2 separate regions of the Homo sapiens genome follow, and region 2 is linked to region 1. The links are contacts of gene promoters, found by promoter capture Hi-C in human tissues and cell types (Jung and others, 2019). All regions are on one chromosome and are shown on one strand. Each heading gives the region's core, a stretch centred on a gene start or on the middle of the fragment in contact. The rest is flanking DNA. Distances are from core to core; before and after follow the strand shown.

Region 1 (2,528 bases), core at 29-2,528:
AGCCTTCCCTAAAACCTGCCTCCAGCCTGGTGTTGGCAGAGCAGGCACTCCCCAGTGTCACACTGGGAGCTGCTGCTGAACCCTCAGAGAAGCCTCTTCCCCGCCCACTGCCAGTGCAGGGACACCAGGCCCCAGAAGCATAACTGTGGTCAGCAAGACCCTTGGAGCAGAGGGCTCAGGACAGACACGGCCACACCTGCAACCCAACACCCTGCAAGACAGCCGCCGCCTTGGCCCCTGCCTCCCCCCTCGCTACAGACAGAGTGACAGGACCGCAGTGAGGGGTGCCAACAGCAGGGGCTGCCCTGGGTGGCTGTGGCCTGTGCCCTTGCCTGGAGATGTCCCCGGCACACGTGCTCTGGTACTGGGAGCTCCGGGTGCCCGGAGGCCGGGACGGTGGGCTGGAGCACACAGCACGGGGACGTGGCGCACACAGAGCCCACAGGAAGAGCAAACGCTGCTGCCACCCCGGCAGGAGGGAGGGAGAGCCCGCGGGGAAGGGTCCTGTTATCCCTGGAGCACCACTGGACTGAGCGGTGCCGGCTCCCAGCGGGGTGCGCTGTAGGGGCCCCGACAACCCTCAGTGCGGAGGTCACAGAATTATCAGGGCCAAGGACACCCGGAGCACCTCGGTCCAATCCCCCAGGCTGCGAAGCGGATTAGGCCGAGCCCGCGCCCAGCCCCTCCCTCGTCCCGCGCACCACGGGTACCTTGTGGATCTCCTCCCGCAGCTCCTCGTCCGTCTGCTCGGCTTCTAGGGGGACAAAGAGACTCCACTGCGGACCCAGCAGGCCCGCCGGACCGCTGCGGGCCGGGCCCCCGGGAGGCTACGGCCGCTACCTGAGTAGTCCACGATGTGGGTGGGCACCTTCTCCGGGGTGACGTCCGCGGGGATGGTGATCTCCTCCGCGCGGGGAGGGACCTGCAAGGGACCCGCGCGCTCACCAGGGACCCCCGGCTGGGCCCGCTCCCACCCCCGCGGCGGGCGTGCCCCTTACCTCCTCGGGGAACTCCTCGCCCACCAGGGACAGGATCAGCGACGTCTTCCCCACCTGGGCTGCGCGGGGCGAGGCGGTCAGCGCGAGGGCCAAGGTCACGGCGCCCCCCGACCCCCGAGACCCTCACCCCGCCTCACGGCCGCCGCAGCTCCGAGACCCCCGGGCCGGCGCCTACCCTCGCCCAGTAACAGGATGCGCACGTCCCGCCTCATAGCTGCCGCCCGGAGCCGCTCCCCGACCCGGAACCCGGCCCCGACCTGGTCCTCAAGCCTTTCGCTCTGCCCCCGCGCCCGCCCCGCACTTCCGGTTCTCGGCCCCGCGCTGTCCCCACACTTCCGGCCCCGCCCGCACAGCCGCACCAGCGAGCCGGGCGGGCCAGAGCGGACAGGCTGTGCGGCGCGCCACCGTGTGGACGCGCCGGCCACGGCGGACAGCGCAGGGTCCTGGCGCCCTGGCAGGCCGAGCGGCCATTGCTTCACGGCACCACAGGGGCCTTGACAAACAGCCGATTAAGGGACGGGCAGAGGCTGAGCTCAGGCCAGGAGTGACCAGAGACAGCCAGTGCAACAATGCAGCAATAATGCAATAAATGCCCATGTTTATTACAAGATAGAAACATTAAAGATTTCTTAGGCAAAAGGGCAACAGGTATGAAAGTATTCACAGGGCGCCAAATTTACAACAGCTTGCTCCAGGCGATTTACGTGAATCCTGGCCTGTCCCAGCATGAGGCCATTGACAACCTGGCGCCTCTGCCAAGCCTGTGTCCAGGTGCCTGGCATGACCAGGCGTGATGCCCACCACCACAGTCCCTGCTGCATCTCAGAGGCCGGGGACCTCCCACACAAGGATCTCGTTGCGGGCGGCCGTGAAGAGCAGCCTGGCGGACGGTGTAAACCTGCACAGGTGCACTGCGTTGTCGTGGCCGGCAAAGTCTTGGGCAGTCCCCATGGCACAGTCTACCAGCCTCAGCATGCACTCTGTGGGTAGACGGTGCAGGTGGGCCAGGGCCAGGACCAGGCAGCACTCAGAGGGCTCCCCCAACCCACCCAGACTGTCCCCACTGGGCATGATGCTGGTCGGGGGAGCTGGTGCTAAAAGGGCTCCTGGCTGTGCCCTCCACGTGCCACTGGGACTAGGGGGTCCATCACTGCCAGGCTGTCGGCCTGCAGCTGGGCCAGTTCCCTCCTTAAAAGTCGCTGCCACCCGTGCATTCAGGCCCTGTGCTGGGCGCTGTGCCTGGTTCCTCACCTGCCTCATCATCTCCTGACTCCAGGACCCTCTCTAGGGCAGATGTCCTCACCCCACCCCAGAGACGAGGAGCCCGGGGCACAGGTGAGGCACCTGTCTTGGAACAGGGCACCAGTCAGCCCACTTGGCCCCCACCTAAGACAGGCCCAAACTGCATCCACCAGCACTCACCAGCAAAGCCAACAGCCAGGAGGTGGGTCCCGGGGGACAGGCTCAGGGACATGGCAAAAAAGGGCAGTGGTATCTTCTCCACCACCTGTGAGCAGCCAGCGTGAGGCT
Region 2 (4,104 bases), core at 624-3,123, 180 kb before region 1:
CCCAGGTCCTCATCTGAGCAGGAAGGTTTGGGAGAATGGCAGCTTTGGAGCTTCAGATCAGCAACACACAAGAATACCACAGACGGCAGCAGCTGGCCCACAGTGGCAGAAAAGAAAGCTCCCTCGTCAAAACAGTATCACAGCAGCATGGAGACCTAGAGATAAACGGGGCACAGTAACCACCCGAGAAATCGTCCCACATGCGGCCAGGTACCGCCCAATGAGAACAACACGAGAAATCGTCCCACACACACGGCCAGGTACTGTCCGATGAGAACAACCCGAGAAATCATCCCACATGCGGCCAGGTACCGTCCGACAAGAACCCGAGAAATCGTCCTACACACGGCTAGGTACCTTCTGACGAGAACGGCCAGAGAAATCGTCCCACATGTGGCCAAGTACCATCCGACGAGAACAACCCAATAAATCGTCCCACACACGTGGCCAGGTACCTTCCAATGAGAACAACCTGAGAAATCGTCCCACGCATGCGGCCAGGTACCTCTGACGAGAACAGCCCGAGAAATCGTCCCACACGCAGCCACGTACCTTCCAATGACAACAACCCGAGAAATCATCCCACACACGGCCACATACCTTCCGACGAGAACTAGGTACCTTCCGACAAGAACAACCCGAGAAATCATTCCACACATGCAACCAGGTACCTTCTGACAACAACAACCACAGAAATCATCCCCCACGCGGCCAGGTACCGTCCAACGAGAACGACCAGGTACCTTCCGACAAGAACAACCAGGTACCTTCCGACGAAAATGACCCGAGAAATTGTCCCACATGCAGCCACGTACCTTCCAATGAGAACAACCCGAGAAATCATCCCACACACGGCCACATACCTTCCAACGAGAACAACCAGTACCTTCCGATGAGAACAACCAGGTACCTTCCGATGAGAACAACCCGAGAAATCATTCCACACATGCAACCAGGTACCTTCTGACAACAACGACCCAAGAAATCGTCCCACACGCAGCCAGGTACCTTCCAACGAGGACAACCAGGTGTCTTCCGACAAGAACAACCAGGCACCTTCCAACGAGAACAACCAGGTACCTTCCGATGAGAATGACCCAAGAAATTGTCCCACACGTGGCCTGGTACCTTCCGACAAAGGCTCTGAGACCATTCAATGGGAAGAGGACAGCCTTTTCAGCAAATGGTACTGGGAAAGCTTTATCTCCACATGCAAAATAATGAATGAAGCTGGCCCCTTACCTAACAGCATACACAAAAATTAACCCAAAAAACATAGGATGAAACACCTAAATGTAAGAGCTAAAACTGTAAGACTCAGAATAAAACCTGGGAAAATCTTAAGGACATTGGATTTGGCAGTGTTTTCTTGGATATGACAACAACAGCACCGGCAACAACACAGAAAATAAATTGGACTTCATCAAAATTTGACATTTCTGGCCGGGTACAGTGGCTCACACCTGTAATCCCAGCACTTTGGGAGGCCAAGGCAGGCGGATCACCTGAAGTCAGGAGTTTGAGACCAGCCTGGCCAACATAGTGAAACCCCGTCTGTGCCAAAAATACAAAAATTAGCCTGGCGTGGCAGGCACCTGTAGTCCCAGCTACTCGGGAGGCTGAGGCAGAAGAATCGCTTGAACCCGGGAGGCAGATGTTGCAGTGAGCTGAGACCGTACCACTGCACTCCAGCCTGGGCAATAGAGTAATATTCTGTCTTTAAAAAAAAAAACTGTGGCTATAAGTGAGACTGCAGAGCTGCCCCGGGCTGCTGTCTGTGGAAGCCCTGCCCTGCGGGAGCAGCCACAGCTGTAACCCCACCTCTGAAGTAAAGCTGTTTCCTTCCACCTCTGGCTCGACCTTGAATTCTTTCCTGGGCAAAGCCAAGAACCCTCTGGGACTAAGCTCCTCTTTCGGGCTCGTCTGCCATGCATCAGAATGATGTGGCCACGTGGAGACTGTCTGGGGGTTCCTCGAAATGTTCAGTGTAGACGGATGACCACATGACCCCGCAACTCCACGTCTGCACGTAGACCCGGGAGAGCTAGAAACGGCGACCACGTGACCCCGCAACTCCACGTCTGCACGGAGACCCGGGAGAGCTAGAAACGGGGACCACGTGACCCCGCAACTCCACGTCTGCACGTAGACCTGGGAGAGCTAGAAACGGGAACCACGTGACCCCGCAACTCCACATCTGCATGTAGACCCGGGAGAGCGGGAAACGGGGACCTGGGTGTGCTTGCACCGGAACGTTTGCAGCAGCCCAGAGGTGGGGACAGCCCAGATGAACAGACCAGGTGTGCTCACCCATGAGCATTACGCAGCCGCAAAGAGGAGCGAGGCCCCGACGCTCAGATGAGCCTTGAGAACCTGATGCCCAGTGAACCCGCCAGACACAGAGGGCACCGGTCCTGCGATGCCGTCTCTGGAATGTCCAGAACAGGGAAACCCACAGAGACGCTGGGCAGGGAGAAGGTGGACGGCTCTCGGGGCTGCTGGCAGGAACAGGGAGAGCGGGCATGACGGCTCACAGGTCCAGAAGGTTCTCTGGCGGGTGATGAAAATATCTGGAATTAGGCAGAGATGCTGGTTGTGCGTGTGGCCAATGTGTTACGTGCACCACACTGCTGACCTTTAAGTGGTTAATTTTATGTAAATGTCAACTTCACCTCAATGTTTTGAAATACAGCAAAGCAAAGCAGAGTGTCTTAAGCGTCCTGAGACCCTGGGCCTCCCTGCCTCAGGGCCCAGACCCTCACCCTGCCAGAAGGTCCAGTGGGGCTCAGGATGCCGGGCAGGGAACGCGCTTCACTCCTTCTCTGTGGCGTGCATGGGGCTGGAGCCGCTTAAGACCAAGGCTCAGTGCACCTGGATGCTGGTTAACCCGAAAGTGCCGTACGGAGCCACCAGTGGTCCCACAAGCTCTGATGATGGCCGCAGTCACGGACATGCAAACTTTGATTCACTGAGGACCACGCGAGCAAATGACAGGTGATGCCGGCAATTCTCAGCCCACTGCTGCCTGGATAGCTTGCCCCTTACGCCGCGAGCCAGGCTGCCCACCCAGCCCACACCCGGGCCCACCTGGCGCTTAGCAAATGGCCTTCCCACATCACGCTGGTGGCTTTCCGCACCACCCAGTGTTCACCTGGGCTCCCACACACCAGCAGGAGGCAGCAAGCAGGCACCTCCCTCCCATCTTGCTCCAAGCGCTGTGTGCGGGAGGGATGGAAACCTCCAGGCGCTGGGAAGAAGCACCCCAGGCACTAGGCAGGGGAAGGCTGGGGGGCCTCCGTGCCCACCCCCAGGTCTGAGCGCATTGGGGAACCCGGGGCACCGGGAGGGTTTGCGGACAGTGCCACCCTCCCTGCAGGGCTGCGGCCACCTTACTTTGCCTGGGCCGCCTGGCCAGGGGCCGCAGCTGACCCGCTGAGTCTGGGTTGGTGGCTCACCGTTCTAGGGTTTACACCTGACCCAGTGTGATCTATACCTGCCCAGGTCATACCACACTGTCCAAACTGTTACAGCTTTCAAACCAGCCCTGGACTGGCCGTCATAGCCGCCTTGATTGTCGTTGGCCCATTGCTGGAAGCAAGTTGGCGAAAGCTTCCGTCAGCTCTGACGGTTGGTGTGCAGACAGATGGCGGGCCGCAACATCCTTTCCTCCCCTCCCTGAGCCTCTTTTTCTCTTGGGTGGCAGGTGGGGCCATCTCCTCTGCCTCATCTTTTTCCTAACCTGGAAGTTGTTCCTTAAACACCTGCCCACGGTGGGCTACTGTGAAGCCCTTCACCCGCAGCCATGTGGACATGCTGGAGGAACATCAACAGACTCTCATCTGAACAACAAAAAAGAGGAAAGAACACTCAGCAAAGGAAAGAAGAGGCACTGAGCCAGGTCAGCACCCCGGGCCGCTGGGAGAAGGTACCTAGTCCAGATGATATGGGACACACAGGGGTTTACAGGAAACCGCGACACATTACAGACACGGGACACACACGGGTTTACAGGAAACCGGGACACATTACAGACACGGGACACACACAGCTTTACAGGAAACCAGGACCCATTACAGACACGGGACACACACGGGTTACAGGAAA

The links. Contacts are between HindIII fragments. The study calls those that stand out against the background at their distance.
Region 2: a fragment that was not itself captured here is called in contact with the fragment with the promoter of RHOT2 in region 1 in 4 of the 25 tissues and cell types used here (dorsolateral prefrontal cortex, lymphoblastoid cells, spleen and 1 more).

What each region holds. Positions count from the first base shown.
Region 1 is chr16:666,882-669,409 of GRCh38, reverse strand. It overlaps RHOT2 (ras homolog family member T2), which reads right to left and starts at 1,278. Exons shown (of 19, transcript NM_138769.3): 1 at 1,174-1,278; 2 at 999-1,057; 3 at 841-922; 4 at 711-754. The coding sequence starts at 1,210. WDR90 (WD repeat domain 90) reads right to left here. Exons shown (of 41, transcript NM_145294.5): 40 at 2,421-2,505; 41 at 1,580-1,978. The coding sequence ends at 1,821. RefSeq lists silencers at 811-900, 1,001-1,100, 1,161-1,500 and an enhancer at 886-1,567. The HindIII fragment of the contact is 52,780 bases long and covers 1-2,528 here.
Region 2 is chr16:847,124-851,227 of GRCh38, reverse strand. No RefSeq gene overlaps it. Among named protein-coding and RNA genes, the nearest start is that of GNG13, 48 kb to the right of the region's middle. The HindIII fragment of the contact is 6,946 bases long and covers 1-4,104 here.